6 separate regions of the Homo sapiens genome follow, and all the other regions are linked to region 1. The links are contacts of gene promoters, found by promoter capture Hi-C in blood cells and fetal thymus (Javierre and others, 2016). All regions are on one chromosome and are shown on one strand. Each heading gives the region's core, a stretch centred on a gene start or on the middle of the fragment in contact. The rest is flanking DNA. Distances are from core to core; before and after follow the strand shown. Region 1 holds the start of MAP7 (microtubule associated protein 7). Region 2 overlaps LOC124901408 (a long non-coding RNA gene). Region 3 has its middle 24 kb from the start of BCLAF1. Region 4 has its middle 40 kb from the start of BCLAF1. Region 5 overlaps MAP7 (microtubule associated protein 7). Region 6 overlaps MAP7 (microtubule associated protein 7).

Evidence for each region. The method cuts DNA at HindIII sites, captures the fragments that hold promoters and counts their contacts. A CHiCAGO score of 5 or more calls a contact.
Region 2: a contact is called between a fragment that was not itself captured here and the fragment with the promoter of MAP7 in region 1, in 1 of 17 cell types (megakaryocytes). The highest score is 5.5, in megakaryocytes.
Region 3: a contact is called between a fragment that was not itself captured here and the fragment with the promoter of MAP7 in region 1, in 4 of 17 cell types (M0 macrophages, M2 macrophages, M1 macrophages and 1 more). The highest score is 10.2, in M0 macrophages.
Region 4: a contact is called between a fragment that was not itself captured here and the fragment with the promoter of MAP7 in region 1, in 3 of 17 cell types (megakaryocytes, M2 macrophages and M1 macrophages). The highest score is 6.7, in megakaryocytes.
Region 5: a fragment that was not itself captured here is called in contact with the fragment with the promoter of MAP7 in region 1 in 3 of 17 cell types (megakaryocytes, M1 macrophages and M2 macrophages); the score reaches 5.4 in megakaryocytes.
Region 6: a fragment that was not itself captured here is called in contact with the fragment with the promoter of MAP7 in region 1 in 3 of 17 cell types (M2 macrophages, M0 macrophages and megakaryocytes); the score reaches 11.3 in M2 macrophages.

The regions. Positions count from the first base shown.
Region 1 is chr6:136,548,750-136,551,896 of GRCh38, forward strand. MAP7 (microtubule associated protein 7) reads right to left here and starts at 1,673. Exons shown (of 18, transcript NM_003980.6): 1 at 1,593-1,673. The coding sequence starts at 1,659. It overlaps MAP7-AS1 (MAP7 antisense RNA 1), which reads right to left. Exons shown (of 1, transcript NR_186370.1): 1 at 1,974-3,147. RefSeq lists enhancers at 509-1,047, 1,586-2,123 and silencers at 1,345-1,394, 1,405-1,584, 1,625-1,974. The HindIII fragment of the contact is 6,247 bases long and covers 1-3,147 here.
Region 2 is chr6:136,295,527-136,298,673 of GRCh38, forward strand. All of the region lies in intron 2 of LOC124901408 (a long non-coding RNA gene), which reads left to right. Among named protein-coding and RNA genes, the nearest start is that of BCLAF1, 7.3 kb to the left of the region's middle. The HindIII fragment of the contact is 4,373 bases long and covers 1-3,147 here.
Region 3 is chr6:136,312,141-136,315,287 of GRCh38, forward strand. No RefSeq gene overlaps it. Among named protein-coding and RNA genes, the nearest start is that of BCLAF1, 24 kb to the left of the region's middle. The HindIII fragment of the contact is 1,083 bases long and covers 1,002-2,084 here.
Region 4 is chr6:136,328,513-136,331,659 of GRCh38, forward strand. No RefSeq gene overlaps it. Among named protein-coding and RNA genes, the nearest start is that of BCLAF1, 40 kb to the left of the region's middle. The HindIII fragment of the contact is 270 bases long and covers 1,386-1,655 here.
Region 5 is chr6:136,344,919-136,348,065 of GRCh38, forward strand. It overlaps MAP7 (microtubule associated protein 7), which reads right to left. Exons shown (of 18, transcript NM_003980.6): 17 at 938-1,161. Among named protein-coding and RNA genes, the nearest start is that of BCLAF1, 57 kb to the left of the region's middle. The HindIII fragment of the contact is 1,377 bases long and covers 931-2,307 here.
Region 6 is chr6:136,379,404-136,382,550 of GRCh38, forward strand. The region is part of intron 6 of MAP7 (microtubule associated protein 7); the gene reads right to left. Among named protein-coding and RNA genes, the nearest start is that of BCLAF1, 91 kb to the left of the region's middle. The HindIII fragment of the contact is 4,133 bases long and covers 1-3,147 here.

The sequences.
Region 1 (3,147 bases), core at 423-2,922:
TTATTTTTGAGCACAAACTAACACTTAGCTCGCTAGAACAATGTTGTTTCACATGCAGTTACTGGGTCAGGGTTAGGAACGAAAATCATGCCGTATATTTACAAATGAGGATGCTCCTCTCCCGGGGCCCTCACTTGGGGGAGCCCCGTCCCAGCGTCTAGCTCATCAAATTCCCGAAAGCAATTACAAAGGCATCTCTTCTCCACCCCAAAACAAAATAATGATCTACCAATCTTGCGAACACATTAAGACAAACTCCCTACAGGAAGGAGCATGACTTAAACAAGTTCAAGATACTTTGTCAGTCTTAACCTCAGGTATCTTGGCTGAAGGGATTAAATCATTAGACTTTACGTACCCAACCTCTTCCTAGCAATAGCAGATACATAATTTGCAAATACTGTTTCAGAGCTCTCTGGACCTTTCACGTTAAAATAAGCATACTTGATGGTGGGGAGACAGTGATTCTTACATTTAGGAAACAAATGCTTCCGATTGTGACCGTATGGAAGTGGAAAACAGCTTGCAATTGGAGAGTCTAAGAATTGAATTTCTTTTTAAAGTAAGAAACTGCCTCACTGCCCCCATCCCCAAGTGTAGGAAGATATAGAAACAGCTTACTGGCCAAGAATAGAAGAGGGAACCAGTGGAGAGGGACGGATTTGCAAGATAGCCTCTGGAGAAAAAAAAATCACGAGGGAGAAAAATCGGCTTCATACTATGGAGAGATGGGCGGGGTTGGGAAGCCTTGCTGCTGGTCTTGGGAAGCCTTGCTGCTGGTCTTGGGGACGTGATCCCCTGTCCCTAAGTGTGCCCCTGGAGGTTGTGGGGGAGGGGTATCCTCAACACAGAGGCCTGACCACCAAATCCCGGGCTGCAGAGCCAACAATCCTCCTTTGGGCTCCTGCACAGACTAAAAACAAAAAACTCTGAGAACTCCGACAAGTCAACGAAAGTCTGATCCCGTCAAGCCCGCACTCGCAAACCCCCACCGTGCTGCACTGGGCCCCGGCCCTCCCGAGCTCGGTCCCCTCGGACGACGGTCGTCGCCACTGCGGGCACCAGATTGGGGGGCGGGCCGCTCACCCCGCGGTCCTGCCCCACACCGACCCCGCTGAGGAGCCCCCGGCACCCGGGGCGACCAGGGAAGGCGGGAGGAGGTGCCCAGAAACTGCTCGTCCTGCCAGTCGCACCTGGCCGACGACTCTCTGGCCACTGGTTTGGTCTGGGGGATACGATTTCCCATTCAACTGAATTAGACCCGAGGCCGCGGCGGGGAGGGCAGCGGCCGGGGTCTCTCCGTTTCCTCCCCCGGCTCGCCTCCACCTGTTGCGGGAAAGTCGCGGTGGAGCGCCCGAGGGCGGCCGCAACCCCGGCCGGGGCCGAGCCGGGCTGGCCGAGCCGCGGCGGCGAAGGGCGGGGGAAGGCGCTCTCGGAGCAGGGTGCGCGGCGCGCAGGGCCGGTTGTTCCGGGCCGCGGCCGCGCGGGCGGGGAGGGGGCTGCCGGCGCCGGGTGATTTCGGTGCCAGCCCGCCGGCCCCGCTCGCCGTCCCCTGCCCGACGGGACCCCCACTATCCCCGCTGTGCGGTCACCTGTTTCGCTTCGCACTGCGCCGTCGCCGCCCCTGTGGCCGTCGCCGCCAGCTCCTAGCTCCGCCATGGTGCTCCGATGACGCGCCCGGAGAGCCGCTCCGCCCTTTCCTCGGCTTGGCTCCCGCCGGCCCCCGCCTCCCAGGCCAGCGGCCCAGACAGGTGAGCGCAGTCCGGGGATGGCGGAGGGCGGGGACAGAGAGCGCGGCAGTCGGCTGCGGCCTGGGCCTGGCGCGCCCCCTCGCGGGCAGGTGCGGCGTGGCAGCCGCTCCGACCGCCGCTGCCGAGTCTCGGCTGGAAGAGCGGCGGGCGGAACCAGTACCTCAGTCCGGAGCTTCCGGTCGCCGCGGCCGACCAGCTGAGGGCTCCCGGAGATATGGAGCGGGGTCAGCGAGGCCTGGTGGCGCCTCCTGGAGTCTGGGACGAGCGGCGGTCCGAGGAGCAGCCCAGGTGGGGCGAGGGTACGGAGACGCTATTTCCCTCCGAACTCTGAAGTAGCCAGGTCAGTGTCGGCTCCGCGAGGGCTGGAGTTCACGGTGACAGCCGGCAGAGCATCTGATGCCACGTGGAGAGGCGAAGTACATGGGTCGGATTCCACGCTGGGAGCCGGCCTGGATCTGCGCTTTAGGAAGCCACTGCGGGCGACCCTATCTTGTCGCCAGGACTTCGCATCTGATGAGCCTCAGGGCACACAAGTTAGAGAGGCTTGTGCCGGCTGATGTGGCTTTTCTTTTTCTTAGTTTCCGTTTAGTAAACGACCTTGTGACTTCTGGCTTGCTCAGGAAGACCAGAAAAAAAGGCAATAGGTAACGAATTTTTCTTTTTTTAAAGAAACAGATTATTGGCCGAGGAAAAACCAATTTCGCTCTAAAGGATAAGCAACAAAATACTGAGGGGGGAAAAAGCCTACACAAATGGAAACATACGGCACAAAATCAAGGAGCGACCAGTTCCGCATGGTTACACTAAAATGCACTGCACTCCCACTCTCTGGCTTGGCTGAAGATAACCAGCAAGCTCTGAACAGTTTAAAAGCCTTCCAAGGACTGCAGCAGCACTGGACACACAAGAGAGTCGAGAACAGTATTGGATTTATTGTTAGGGTTACAATTTTCACGATCTTTGCATGCAAAACTTGCCACTCTGAGCCCAGTGAACTATTTTTATTTGGTTTACTTACTGGCTTTCTGGATGACTAGGTAGAGCTTTAACTAAAGAACACTTCTGCTGTGGTCTGTGATGATGAATTTTCCCGTAGTGTCATTTCTATAATGGAATAGGCAAACTGACCATTTAGAATGTGATATTCCTAAATCACATTCAAATCAGTCTTATCAGAGACTTCTAATCAATAAAAATAAAGCACCAGATGGCTAGAGGTAGTTTTTGACCTCAGCTTGGGCCTCAGCAAAGATTTTTTGTGTTTTTTTTAACTACATTAAAACATCAGAGTTTAAGACACTTTTCTTTGAGCATCAGAAATACTCTCAGCTGAATTTAGAGTTGAACTATCCGGAAGAACCCTGGAGAAGGAGGGTGATTTATTTTCAACTTTCTG
Region 2 (3,147 bases), core at 181-2,680, 250 kb before region 1:
ACACAAATTGTACTATCAATCAGGACGTGATAGAAAATCAAAGAAGGAGACCTTATTTATCTATTTATTTATTTAACTTTTAAGTTCAGGAGTACAAGTGCAGATTTGTTACGCAGGTAAACTTGCATCCTGGGGGGTTGTTGTAAAGGTTATTTCATCACCAAGGTATTAAGCCTAGTACCCATTAGTTGTTTTTACTCATCCTCTTCCTCCTCCCACCCTCACCTTCCTAAAGGCCCTAGCATGTGTTCTTCCCCTCAGCGTGTCCATGTATGTGTTCTCATCATTTAGCTCCCACTTATAAGTGAGAACATGTATTTGGTTTACTGTTGCTGTGTTAGTTTGCTAGGGATAATGGCCTCCAGCTCCATCCCTGTTCCTGTAAAAGACATGATCTCATTATTTTTTTATGGCTGCATAGTATTCTGTGGTGTATATGTACCACATTTTCTTTATCCAGTTCATCACTGATGGACATTTAGGTTGATTCCATGTCTTTGCTACTGTGACTAGTGCTGCAATGAACATATGTGTGCATGTTCTCTTTATAATAGAACAATTTGTATTTATTTGGGTATATACCCAGTAATGGCATTGCTGGGTCAAATATTTCTTTTTTTTTTTTTCTTTTTTATATTCGAGATGGAGTCTCGCTCTGTTGCCCAGGCTGGAGTGCAGTGGCGCGATCTCGGCTCACTGCAATCTCTGCCTCCCAGGTTCAAATGATTCTCCTGCCTCAGCCTCCTGAGTAGCTGGGACTATAGGTGCGCACCACCACGCCTGGCTAATTTTTGTATTTTTAGTAGAGATGGGGTTTCACCATATTGGTCTTGAACTCCTGACCTCATGATCCACCCACCTCGGCCTCCCAGAGTGCTGGGATTACAGGTGTGAACCACTGTGCCCTGCCTGGGTCAAATATTTCTGTTTTTAGATCTTTGAGGAATCACCACACTGCCTTCCACAATGGCTGAACTAATTTACACTCTCACCAACAGTATATCGAATTTCTTTTTCTTCACAACCTCGCCAGCATCTGGTATTTTTTTGACTTTTTAAGAGTAGCCATTCTGACTGGTATGAGATGATATCTCATTGTGGTTTTTATTTGCTTTTCTCTAATGATCCGTGATTTTTTTTTTCTGTTTTTTTGTTTTTTTGGTTTTTTTGAGACAGAGTCTCCCACTATCGCCAGGCTGGAGTGCAGTGGCACGATCTCAGCTCACTGCAACCTCCGCTTCCCGGGTTCAAGCGATTCTCCTGCCTCAGCCCCCCGAGTAGCTGAGACTACAGGCGCGCACCACCACGCCCGGCTAATTTTTGTATTTTTAGTAGAGACTGGGTTTCCCCATGTTAGCCAGGATGGTCTTGACCTCTTGATCCACCCGCCTCGGCCTCCCAAAGTGCTGGGATTACAGGTGTGAGCCACAGCGCCCGGCCTGATACCATTATAATAATTGGAAAGATTAGAGAGAATGATAGGGAAGGGAAGAATGAAACAGATTGGGAAAAGGGAAGGAAATCAGGAATTCCATTTTGAATATATTAGGCTTGATATGTGTGTGAAACTTTTAAGTACAGAGGCAAGGTATGAAGTTAAATGTGTGCATCCGTGGTTCAGAGGTGAGTTCTAGCCAAGAGATAAAGCAAAAAGATTATATTTAGAATTATTGGATGAGGCTTGGCGCATTGGCTCACACCTGTAATCCCAACAATTTGGGATGCCAAGGCAGGAGAATGGCTTGAGCCTAGGACTTCAAGACCAGCCTGGGCAACATAGGGAGACCCCGTCTCTATTAAAAGTTTAAAAATTGGTTGGGTGTGGTGGTGCACAACTGTAGTCCCATCTACTTGGAAGGCTGAGGCAGGAGGATTTCTAGAGCCCAGGATGTTGAGACTGCAGTGAGCCATGATTGCACCACTGCACTCCAGCATGGGTGACAGAGCGAGACCCTTTCTAAAAAAAAATAAAATAAAATAAGATAAAATCACAGGATGAGAAATATAGGGAGACAAGAGAAGACAGCCTAGGAGTGAACCCTAAAGAATCCCAACATTTAGAGATTTGTTAAAAGAGGAGGCGGAGCCAATAAAGGAGACTGAGAACAGCCTATGAAGTAGGAAATAAGTGAAATCAAATGTATTGGTTGTCTACTGCTGCGTAATGAATGACCCCAAATTTACCAGCTTAATGTTTACTATCTCACAGCTCCTGTGGATCAGAAATCTGAGAGTGATTATTTGGGTGGTTCTGGCTTAGGGTCCCTTGAAGTTGCACTCCAGCCTGGGTGACATAGGGAGACTATCTCTAAAAATAAATAAATAAGTCATTTTAAAAATCTCATTTAAAAATTTATCTATCTATGTAGAAACAGAAGAATCAACCTCAAAATGATACTGTTCTGTGTATATATTGAATGGCCACATCACTGGCAATTTTTAAAACATTTTCTTCCTTTGCTCTTCTGTATTTTCTAAAATTTCTACAATAAAAATTACTTTCATAATATTAATATCAAAAAACTTTTAAAAATGTAGACCATTGAATTTTATTTGAATTGTGTAAGATAATGAAGACCTAAAAACTGAGAGGTCTTGTTTTTGTTTTTTGAGACAGAGTCTCGCTCTGTTGCCCAGGCTGGAGTGCAGTGGCACGATCTCAGCTCACTGCAACCTCCACCTCCCAGGTTCAAGCAATTCTCCTGCCTCTGCCCCCCAAGTAGCTGGAATTACAGGCATGCACCACCACGCCTGGCAAATTTTTGTATTTTTAGTAGAGACGGGGTTTCACCATGTTGGCCGGGCTGTTCTCAAATTCCTGACCTCAGGTGATTTGCCAACCTCGGCCTCCCAAAGTGCTGGGATTACAAGCGTGAGCCACCTCGCCCAGCAAGTTTGTGTGTGTGTGTGTGTGTGTGTGTGTGTGTGTGTGGTTCTTCCAAATCAAGCGTAAAAGCTCTCATTTAATAAACAAGAAGAATAAGGATGGGTATGGTGTCTCATGCCTGTAATCCCATCACTTTAGGAAGCCGAAGAGGGAGGATTACTTACACCCAGAATTTGAACTGTGTGAGCCACTGTACTCCAACCTGGGTGACAGAGAGAGAACCTACCTCTAAAAAATACAAACATACATATATACATAAT
Region 3 (3,147 bases), core at 293-2,792, 240 kb before region 1:
GTCTTTTTGAACGAATGGTGCTGAACAACTGGTTACACACATGGAAAGGAAAAAACCTTGATTGATTACTACTACTACCACCTGATCTTTACTGCTCTTTTGTGGTCTTAATTGTATCATCTGTGAAATAATTATGCTGTAGGTCCACAGTTCCTTACCTGTGGATCCAAAATCAAAAATTCTCTAAAAACTGCAAGTTTCTTTCTAAGACTTTTTGTGCCAAAACCCAACCATACCTGGATTCATTTGGTCACAGACCTGATCTGAAATGATTTGAGGCTACTTGTAGTCTCTATGTAATTTAGTATAGTCACACATTTCACTGCAGATATACACATTTACTTGATTACAAGTTGTTACCTAGACCCTGCTGATTGAGTTCCATACTATATATTATATGCAATATATTACCTAACTAAAATCCAAAAAGTTCTAAATTCATACATATACGTGAATTAAATAATCCATGTAAAACACTTAGTATAGTGTCTGGAACAGAGTAACCCCTCAATATAATATAGGGGTAATACTAGCCTGGCACAGTGGCTCACACCTGTAATCCCAGCACTTCGGGAGACTGAGGTGGGCGTTCGAGACCAGCCTGGCCAACATGGTAAAACCCCATCTCTTCTAAAAATACAAAAAGTAGCCGGGCATGGTGGCAGGCACCTGTAATCCCAGCTACTTGGGAGGCTGAGGCATGAAAATCGCTTGAACCCAGGAGGCGGAGGTTGCAGTGAGCCGAGACTGCACCACTGCACTCCAGCCTGGGCAACAGAGCAAGACCCTGTCTCAAAATAATAATAATAATAATAATAATAATAATAATAATATAGAGATAATACTATCACTATTACTAGTACTACTACCTCCACAACTACTATTATCATTACTATTATTATAAATTGTAGGAGTAGCCAATAAAGTGACTAAACACAAATTAAAAGGAATTAATAACAATAGAGATTTAAAGGACTTGTGCAGTATCTGTAGGTGAGTCAAGCTTCCCTAGAGTCTACAGGGAAGTGGCATTGGTGATTCAACAGAGATACCCAGGAGGAGATGGTGAAACAAAGCTGACTGCCTGTCAGGAAACTTGCCCCTGCCCTCACTCTTGGGTGGGGATTCTCCTTGCATTGCTCCATTTAGAAAACCTGAAAGGATTCGAAGACGCGGCATGCTTCCTGATAGACCACAGTCAGGAAAAGATTGTTATCATCCAAAAGGCATTTACTTTTCAGGGAAAGTGAGAAAGAAAGAGAGGAGAGGATAAATAAATACATGGAGAAAAAATAGAGAAGGGAAAGAGAGAAGAACCCAAGAGAACAATCGCTTTTCCTCCTCCTTTTTCTTGGGCAGTCAATGCCTGCCTCGCACCTGTAGTGACTCCAACTGCTGCTTCAGGAGTAAAATCAGTCCTCAGGAGTAAAATCAGTTGACTGCACAAACTCTGAAGGGGTGGTAGCTGAGGACAACAGGTGGAGAATGACTACCTGGAATAGTCACCTCCCCGCACTTTGGGACAAACCCCCAAGGCTGACAGATGGCACTTAGAGAAGGGGCTCTTCCTCCTTTATTCTCTAGTAGAGCATATCACAGACAATGGGACAAGAATCAAATTGATAACAATATTGTCAACATGAACACTGGAAGTAACATATATGTAATACACAAATACATATTTATTGCTGTACTATAAAGGGGAATACATCCCAGTCCTTTTTAAAGGTTAGCATAACTTTGTTACCAAACCAGGAAAAGACATTATCAGAGTAAAAAGCTATAGGCTCATTTTACTCATAAATGTAGATTCAAGAATCCTTAAAAAAAAAGGAAATTAAATTCAACAATGCACAGGGAAGGTGATACCCTTGCCCAATTGGGTTTATCTCAGGCATCCATATGTTAGTTTAATATCAGAAAAACTATAGATATAATTCACCATAATAGCAGATTAAGAAAAGAGAAGATTTGTGATGATCTCAAGTTTATGCTGATAAAATCCAATATAAATTCATAATACAAACTTTTAACAAATCAAAAATATAGCCAGTTTCCTTAACCTCATAAAAATGTCTATAAAAAGCTTTTAAGCAAACATCATTCTGTATGGGAAAACACCAGAAATATCTTCTTTAAAGCAAAAATGAAACGAGATGTTCACTCTTACCACTCCTCAATAGCAATAAAAAATTAGAATCATAAAGATAAACCATTTTATTTATAGACGGCATTATTATTTACACAGAACAAATAAGATAATTTATAGGCCAGGTATGGTGGCTCACTCCTGTAACCCTAATACTTCAAGAGTATCACTTGAGACCTGGAGGTGGATCCAGGTGGATCAAGGAGGATCACTTGAGTCCTGGAGTTTGAGACAAACCTGGGAAACATAGCAAGACCTCGTCTCTACAAAAAACTTAAAAATTAACCAAATGCGATGGTTCACGCCTGTAGTCCCAACTACTGGGGAGGTTGAGGTAGGAGGATCTCTTGAGCCCAGGAGTTTGAGGCTACAATGAGCTATGATGGTGCCACTGCACTCCAGCCTGGGCAACAGAGCAAGACTCCATCCTACCCTTACTCCCCTCCCCCACCAAAAAAAAAAGAATTTACAGGTGATATATTCGAAATAGGAAAGGTTAGCAAATTAGCAAGACAGTTGCATTTCCAAACACCAGCAACAAACAACTAGAGATTGAAATTAGAAAGAAGACCTCATTTGTAATACTTCAGAGACTATTAGGAGCCTAGAAAAAAATTCTAGCAAAACATACATAAAACATATACAGGGAATTTTTTAAATTTATTTTTTAGAGACAGGGTCTCTGTCACCCAGGCTGGAGTGGTGTGGCACTATCACAGCTCACTGCAGTCTTGAATAAAGCAACCAAAATGAATGAAATATAGCAACATGCAACAATATGGATGAATCTTACCAATATGAAGTTAAAAAAGTCTCAGCATATTTACATAAAGCATACTATCCTTTTCATAAAATGGAAAAGTATGTTTTTTAGAAATTCATATAGTTGAGTGAAGAAACTGCATAGAAAGAAAGCAACAGATTGATGAATGCTGGTCTTTGGATTGTAGTACCTCAGGAAGGCAAGAAAAGAGAAGAGGAAAGAACATAAGTAAATG
Region 4 (3,147 bases), core at 271-2,770, 220 kb before region 1:
ATTGTTCCAATATTGTCTTTTATAGGCAAAAGAGCCAACCCAGGAGTATTATGTCATATTAGATCTTATGTTGTTGTTGTTGCTGAAGTCACTTTTGATCTGGAAATGTCTGTCTTTCTTTACCTTGCATAGCTTTAACATTTTTGAAGAGTACACGCCTGTTACTTTATAAAATGCTCTTTACTTTGGGATTGTCTGATGTCTCCTTGTCATCAAATTCAGGTTATGCATTTTTGGCAGGAACACCAAAATGCCATGATTTCTCAGTGTATTGTATGAGGAGGCACACGTGTGTCTTTGTCCCATGACTAGGACTAGGGTTAACATTTATCCATTGGTTAAAATGATATTTGCCAGATTCCTCTACTTTAAAGTTAATTGATAAGTATTTTGTACTTTTTGAATAAATACTTTAAAGTTAATTGAAAAGTATTTTGTACTTTTTGAATAAATAAAGGTTAGGTATCTTGTGGAAAGGTACTGTAAGACAACATACACATGCTGTTTCTCATCAGATTTTCACTCACTCATTTGTGGAATTCATTGATGATTATTGCCTGAATCAATTATTAGTGTAATTGCAAAATGTAGTTTTAAAACTCCATCATTCTTTCTGTCTTTATTACCTGGAATTTAATTGTGAATTACATCTTTTCCTTCTTTTTAATTCATGTATTAATTTATATCAGTATGGCCTCAAAGATTGTCTTTTATTCAATGAGTCACAATCTATGACTATCAATATTATTTTGGTGCTCAATTTGTCCTAGATTTAGCCATTAGAAGGCCTTTTAGACTGGTTCCTTTGTCATTTTGGCAGGTTTTCGTAATTTTGGGGGCATAGTCTTACTTTCTGGGACATAAGATGTACCAAATCAATCTTATACTTTCCCTGCTCCCAGCCTATCATCAGCCATTTCTCCAAAGAGCCCTGGTTCCTTTAGTGGAGGATGATATTCAGTAACCAATATCTAGGCCCTAGGTATGTTCATTACGAGGGATTGTCATTGCTTCTAGGCCCTCTCAGTGGACAGAGCTTAGAGATAAATGCTTGCATACACATATGTACACACATAAATCTGTTAGAAACTGTGCATTCACATCAATACCTGCAAAGCCAGTTCAACACTATGGGGTTTATTTTAGCCTTTCCTCTTTCCATATTTGTAACTACACTGCCTGAGAATGAGAAACCTGACTCCAATTATCTCCAATATATTTGCTTATTTGTTCAGTTTCTCTGTGTTTAATTAAAACTGCCGGCTCCTTTTTTTGCAAGAATTGACTGTTAAACTAAAGCAATAATTCTCTTCACATGCAGCAGAGCACATGGATTTCAGTGAACTCATTTTGGAGGACACATCACAGATGGAGCAGTGGTTGTAAGCTTGGGCTCTGGAGGCAGACAGACCTGGGCTGTAGCCCTGGCCATGTACTCAGGAGCTGTGCAACATTCACAGAATTCTTTCCTTCTCTCGGTCTCAGAGGATAATAACCACAATAGGATTAAAGGAGCTATGCATATACAGCTACAGTGCCCAGCACATAGTAAACACAACGAATGATAGCTATTATAATTGTATCTCTATTGAATATAGGAAATTTTTTAGAACTCCCTAGGCCAGGATAAAAATTTGCAAAGGCAGTTACCACTAAGCTTCAAAATTCATCAAAGCTTAGAGATAAAATAAATCTTAACAACATTCTTATTAGTCGTATCTCCACATAAGAGAAAGAAACTGATTTACATTAAAAACCTAACTATTCAAAAGTTTTACATGCATTTTTTGGGTCTCTGTTTAATATGAAAAAAAAGTGTTAGACGTTATGTAATATTTTCCTTTTCCTTTTTTTAGGTCACAAGTATTCATCTACCTTGAGTCAAAATCGGTTGATGGATCTCCGTTTTTGTTGTTTGTTTCCTTTGTTTTGTTTTGTTTTTGAGACGGAGTCTCACTCTGGAGTGCAGTGGTGTGATCTTGGCTCTCTGAAACCTCCGACTCCCTGGTTCAAGCGATTCTCCTGCCTCAGCCTCCTGAGTAGCTGGGATTACAGGCATGTGCCACCATGCCCAGCTAATTTTTGTATTTTCAGTAGAGACGGGGTTTCACCATGTTGACCAGGATGGCCTCGATCTCCTGACCTTGTGATCCGCCCGCATCGGTTTCCCCAAGTGTTGGGATTACAGGCGTGAGCCACTGCACCTGACCGATGAATCTCCTTTTAAAGGCCTCCATGAGCTGAAAGCTATGGGGAAACAACAAAAGGTTTTGAGCAGGGTCCATGCATTAGATGGTAAGAGTTAGATCAGACTGTGTGTGGTGACTCATGCCTGTAATCCCAGCACTTTGGGAGACAGAGGCAGGAGGATTGTTTGAGGCCAGGAGTTCAAGGCTGCAGTGAGCTGATTGCAGCACTGCACTCCAGCCTGAGCAACAGAGCGAGACACCGTCTCAAAATATATTTCATAAGAAGTGGCTAGCAGCTGGATGCAGTGGCTCATGTCTGTAATCCCAGCAGTTTGGGTGGCCAACGTGGGTGAATTGCTTGAGTTCAGAAGTTTGAGAACAACTTGGGCAACATGGTGAAACTTCATCTCTACAAAAATTACAAAAAATTAGGTGTGTGTGGTGGAGCAAAGCCCGTAGTCCCAGCTACCCATGAGGCTGAGGTGGGAGGATCACCTGAGCCCAGGAGGTCAAGGCTGCAGTGAGCTGTGATTATGCACTGCACTCCAGTCTGGGTGACAGAGTGAGACCCAACATATGAGTATGTATTTGTTCAGGCTTCCAGATGTCTCTGTCCCATATTTCTGATATTCTCCCATTGATATAGAGAAAGATAGGTGGCAGAAGGGAGATAACAGGAAAACTATAATCAGGAAAACTTCCAGGTAGAACTGGGAGTTTGGGGGTGGATCTTTCTCATGTCTTGAGGATTTGAGTGGGGATCACTCATGCATGATCCTATAACAGGAAAACTCAGGAATTAGGCAGAGGAAAGCTCAAAGTCTAAGTGACACTGTTGCTTTCCTTACATGATGGCCTGTGTGGCGTTTGAATTGAGTGAGCCTTCAAAGCAAGAAGGCAACTGAGGCTGAGTATTTATCTATCATCTATCTATCACCTATCTATCTAATCTATCATC
Region 5 (3,147 bases), core at 369-2,868, 200 kb before region 1:
CAATTTGCCCACAAATAATTCTGTATTGTCTCCATTTAGTTATCCTGAATTTGGCCAGTTCTTTTTGTAGAAATATAAAGAGATGCTGGTCAATACATGACAGTCATCTTCAGGGAAGAGAAGTCAACAAAATTGAAACAGGTTTGAAGAGACAGGGAGCACAGATTATCTTGCTAATTCCTGAGACTGATGGGATTGCGTTGCTGAGCTGCTATGACCACTGAGTTAGTAATATTTGATATTATGTCTTCTTTCTTTGGGTCCTGATTGTTCTTTTTGCACAAAGACTTCAGGTCAAGTGTGGGTCAAAGAGACATTGTATAAGAAAGTCACAGGCAGTTTCAACAGCAACAAAATCATTTAACAAGTTAAGATCTTTAGACTCAGTGTGAGTACTGGTTTCATCACCTAAATCGTAACTATCCATCATGTCACATTTTGAAAGGACAATAATTTATTACCCAGGTTGCCAAACCCAAATAAGAGAAAAATGGTGGGAGAACATGATGGCAGTCTTCAAATACATGAAGACCTCAGAAAGATGGAAAAAACTCAGATCTTTCTCTAGTGGGCAGCACTAGGCCGGATGGTCCAAAATTATGGGGAGACAGCCCTGTCTTTCTACAAAGCATATTCTGAGCATGCATGATGTCGGGTAATGGGTGCTGCTCTGTGCAGAGAGGCTGACAGACACCCACTGGGTGCTGCGGACTGGACTTCTGCACTGACTGAGAGAATAGGAGAGGCCTTAGAAGTTGTCCAATCCAACTCAAAATTCAATTTCTATGAGCCAGGCACAATCTCTTCCACTGTGGCTTACTTGGTCCTTTGAAGAACAAAGTGTTACCACAATCATACTGTAGAAGGCAGCAGTTCGTGTCCTCCTGGGTGTCAGATATTTCTGATGACTACAGAAGGGAGTTGGAGGCAAGCTTACCTGCAGTCTGCTGTGTCTGAACACCATCTACCTGAGGCAGGGGCCCAAGTGTCCCTTCATCATCAAAGGCCAAAATTGGATTCAAAGGAATTTCTGGGCTCTCACTGTTGGTGACATCTAATCTGGATGGTTTAGATCCAATGGGTAAGTTTATAATTTCTTCAAAATTTTCATTCTGAACAGATACACCATTTTCATTTGGTTGTTTTTCCAAATCGGGAGTGCTAAGGAATTTGAAAAATAAAAATAGAAATAAGTTAGTCTTAAAACTGGAAAACACATTATTAGGAAAACCAAAATGTTTTATAATGAATAATTTTATAAATCTACAATTAAAAAAATCAGACTGGTGAGTCACATCATTACTAACAAAAATAATAAATTGTGGTGTATTTGTACCTTAAATTCTTATTTTAAAAAATCTAGGTCAGGCACAGTGGCTCATGCCTGTAATCCTAGCGCTTTGGGAGGCCGAGATGGGAGGACTGCTCAAGGCCAGGAGTTCAAGACTAGCCTGGTAAACATAGCAAGACCCCCGTCTCTACAAAAGAAAAAAATTAGCTGTGTGTGGTGGCACGCACCAGTAGTCCAAGCTACTCTGGCAGTCGAGGTGGGAGGATCACTTGAGCTCAGGAGTTTGAGGCTTCAGTGAGCTATGATGGCACCACTGCATTCCAGCCTGGGCTATGGAGTAAGACCCTGTCTCTAAACAACAACAAAAAAATTTTAAATCTGTCATTTTGTTATGAAAATTATCAAATAGAACAATTTATCAATTACAACAGATCATCATTAATAGAAATAAATCATCATCAGCAGCAGTTCTACACATTTAATGATTTCTGCTGCAGGCATTTTTATATTCATCTGATAGAGTACCACTTATGAGGACCTTTGCCTCAAAGATGAGGGGATTATAATTTGGAGGGGGGAGTAAATGATTTGCACAAAGTCACACAACTACTGAGAGATAGTTGAGGCTAAATGCACGATCTCTTAATCTCTGGTCCTGTGTTTTTCTCATTAAGCCATTTCGCACACTTTCTAGATATTCCAGCCTCCTAAAGCCCTTGCATAATTTCATATGTAAATTTTTGAAGACCGATCTTCTTATCTTTGCCCCTTAAATCTGCCTCTGACCTCATCTTGATCCTTATGAATTCATGCTTAATATCTTGGATTTATTTTTGAGATATACTTAATTGGCCCCAAATACTTAATCTTCTATGGTTTGTCTTAGATTACCACTCTCTGTTATAGGCTTATTATTATGCTTTACAATGTAGCCAAATAATGCCTATGCATCAAATGAGTGCTAAACTAATTTTACCATTCATTTTATTTCATTGCAGCATATACATATGTGTGCAAGCTTCAAAACTTGTTCAATGCTCAACAAATTAACCTTAGTCTCAGTAATACCAACTGCTTGAACATTGTTAGCAAGTCAGTTTGTCTTCTCAAATTGTAAAACAATGCTAATGTAAATCCAACCTTTCTATTGCTTTTTAACACTTTGCTTTTTTTTTGCCTGATTGAATAAATAGTTTACTTTCTTTTTCCTTTTTTGAGAAGGGTCTCACTCTGTTGCCCAGGCTGGAGTGCAGTGGTACAGTCTCAGCTCACTCCAACTTCTGCCTCCTGGGTTAAAGTGGTTCCTGAGTCTCAGCCTCCCAAATAGCTGGGACTACAGGGGCAAGCCACCATGCCTAGCTAATTTTTGTATTTTTAGTAGAGAAAGGGTTTCTTCGTGTTGGCCAGGATGGTCTCGAACTCCTGGCCTCGAGTGATCTGCCCCCATCGGCCTCCCAAAGTGCTGGGATTACAGCCATGAGCCACCACGCCCAGTCAAAATAGTTTACTTTCTCTACTGAGTGAGAAGTATTGACTTTGGAACACATACTAAAGCATTTCTGATTTGAATATTTGTGTATTTTTAAAATTATTAAACCTTCCTTTTTTACGGAAAAAATGAAGATGCCTGTCCTAAGTGTCTCACAAGGCATTGCAGAATACACTGAAAACATTATTTGTAAAATAATCTGAAATATTATACAGTGTGATGATGCTTTTCTGCTATTTTACTAAGAAGGGAAGGGAATGCCACTAGGCATTATAAGTCTCCACAAGAGTACAGTCACACACATGTGCACATGCCCCCCCCCCCAAGTCACGTGTGCACACACATGCCTAACATCTACTGTTCTAAG
Region 6 (3,147 bases), core at 226-2,725, 170 kb before region 1:
ATTAAGATTAATTAAAAAGATGTTATAAAAACTACTGCAATAGTTACAATTAGAAAGCACCACGGGCTAAGTACTATCATAAGCTATGTGCAGCAGTGTAACAACAGAATAGAATACAATCTAAAATTAGAATACATGTACAGGGTAAAATCAGTGGGGAAAAGGTGATTAGGACTAACTGAAAATCTTCCACAGAACTATTTTCAAGAGATGAGAAAGGGAAGAAAGTTAAACTCTTCCTTTTCTTAGAAAAACTGTACGATGACTGTGGCTTACAACTGCAGAGATGGGTTGTCATGGAAAAGATAAGTCTCCTTTCTCCATTAAGAAGTTCAGTTACTTTATTTCCATGAGTCTGAAGGCATCGACCAAAAAATTTATCTCAAATGATTAAAAACCCATTGTAACCTGTGGTAAAGCAAATCCAGAGAGATCTGTTTCATATCTCCTGATACTCTGAACTAAACATATTGCTAGGAGAAACATGTTTCCACTTCCACCACATTCATAACTATGCCTTGACCAAGATGGAGACAGAGCGTCCGTAAGATAACTTTTTAGTAAAGGTTAATAAAGGAGAATTGGTGCATTGTTGTTGTTGTTGTTTTTTGTTTTGTTAGTTTGTTTTTTTCCCCTAGAGGGGCCTGATTTTAAGATTACCAAACCGAAGGGAGAGATATTAACTCTCATGGAACAACGCTATGGCATCGATCCTATTTAAGCACTTAAAATTGAGATATTGACAATTTCCATTATAGGCCACCCAGATGAAGAGAGGCAAACTCAAAGGCCTCTGGGGGCCATGCAAGTTAACATAAATAAATGATCGGGGCTAAACAAACTTTATGGATACCTGCCTTACCACTTCCTCCCATAAGCGTGACATCACTATTCCATTTCAGGTAATAGGTGCCAGGAAGAAATTAGACACATGTTGCCAGGTCCTGATTTTTTCTTTAGAAGTAGAAAACTGAAATGTTACATGAAGTATTCTATATTTTAAGTGTTGGCAATTAATTCTAATTAAAACAAGAACAAACAACACTGCTCAGGTAAAACAGAACAAGCCTGTGAGCAGAATTTATTTCGAGGTCTACCTCTGAGTCCTATGATGAAGATTCTGGGGAAAAAATGTATTGATGGATTTTAAGCAAAAAGTAGGCAATTTTTCTTACTCTTTTCCAACTTCCTAATATTCTTTCTTGAGAAAAAGTTGGTTAAGCAGATAGCTTAAAGATAATAATATATACTTTTAATGTAAAAATTTCCAGTGGCAACATTCTGTTCCAGCAATTACAGAAACCTTTCATAATCAGAGGTTTCTTTTAACCAAAGTAATCTTATCAGTCCATGTAACACCATATTCAGGTGTAATAATTAAAATATTTAAAAACTGACAAGGCACAGACACTACACTAATGACTGGCTTCCCTTGGCTTTGGAGGGCCCGGGGAAGCACATCTTGGAAAAGTGATATGGAAATATTTCAGTATTTTTAATAACTAGTAGAGCTCTTTGGATATATTACAGCAGAACATGAGCCCTGATGGTATCGGAGCCTCAATTTAATCTCAGCTTTAAGGCCTATGCCTTAGGACTGAGAAAGCTCAAACAATCTAATAATGATGTATATACCTGCTTGACCCATTTGTCTATAAGGTCCTCTAATTTAACAATCTGGTAAGAATGCTTTCTAATGAGATAATAAAGTATAACTAACTTTTAAAAATAGCAGGAAAGAACTAATGGAATTACTTAAATTTCTTTTATTTATTTTTAATTATTTTCTTTTTGAGATACGATCTCACTCTATTGCCCAGGCTGGAGTACAGTGGTACAATCATAGCTCACCACAGTCTTGACCTCCCAAGGCTTAGGTGATCCCCCTGCCTCAGCCCCCGAGTAACTAGGACTACAGGTGCACACCATCACGCTTGGCTAATTTTTGTATTTTTAGTAGAGATGGGGTTTCGCGATGGTGCCCAGGCTGGTCTCAAATTCCTGGGGCTCAAATGATTCACCCACTTTGGCCTCCCAAAGTGCTGGAAATACAGGTGTGAGCCACTGTGCCTGGCCTTAAATTTCTAAATTAGAGAAATTTAAATTCAGAAGAAGTTTTAAAATTCTCACTATAATAAAAGGCCTAAGCCTTTCAGGGTTCTACTGAGGGCTTTGCTTAAGTTAAAAAGAAAAAAATTCCTTCCTAGACAATATATGGGAGCCCCTTCAGGCTGACCTGGCCTGCTAGACCAGGAACTGATTGACAGTTCTTTGGTAAGGAGGCAGAGAAGCAGAACTCTCAAATCTAGCGTTCTCCCTCTTGTCCTATTATTTCTGCTTAGTATTCTATTTTCTGGGCCTCTACCATGATTCATAGGGCAGTTTTCTGGCCCCCTCTATGAACTGGTTATTGAACTTCCCTTAACGCTGATGTCCTATGTCCTAATTCTCTACTCCTTACCACTTCTAACCTTACACACACACACACACACACACACACACACACACACACACACAGAGAGAGAGAGAGAGAATGCATGGAGTCAGAGTCAATCTAAGAAAGGACACCCATGAAGGTGAGAACTGAGGATGCAGTGTGGCGGTCACACGGGTGAGGAGTCACCCTTCTGCAATAATTAGCCTGTAGGACATTAAAGAGAGGCTCGCAACCTCTTAGGGACTCTATCACCCCAACTAGAGTAGGTGATCTATCCAGTAGATCTTTTTCAGTTCCAAGATTCTACTGCCTTAAGAAGGTCTATCGTGCAGAGAGTCTAGAATACATCTTTCTAATTGATACAGACAATTCAATGTCATTCCACAGCATGGACAGGATATTGCCAAGTTTGTTGTCTAGCTCCCTACTCCCACCCTTACCCTAATTTCAGCTATGGGATTGTAGAAGATAATAAAGTTTTAAAGAAGTGTAAAATACTAATTGTAGTTTGTCTCAGATCCAGGTTCACAAAAGTATGAAACTAAAGTGCTAAGTGACCAACTGCAAAGAAAAGATGAATAGACAACTGTAAGAGTAACATTCACATGCTATATTTTGTCTTATATTTAGGGAATAGGTTTGAAAATAAAGAATATGAAAGAAATTTAAATTCACAATATTTATGAAAGGCCCCTAATTTGACTACAAGT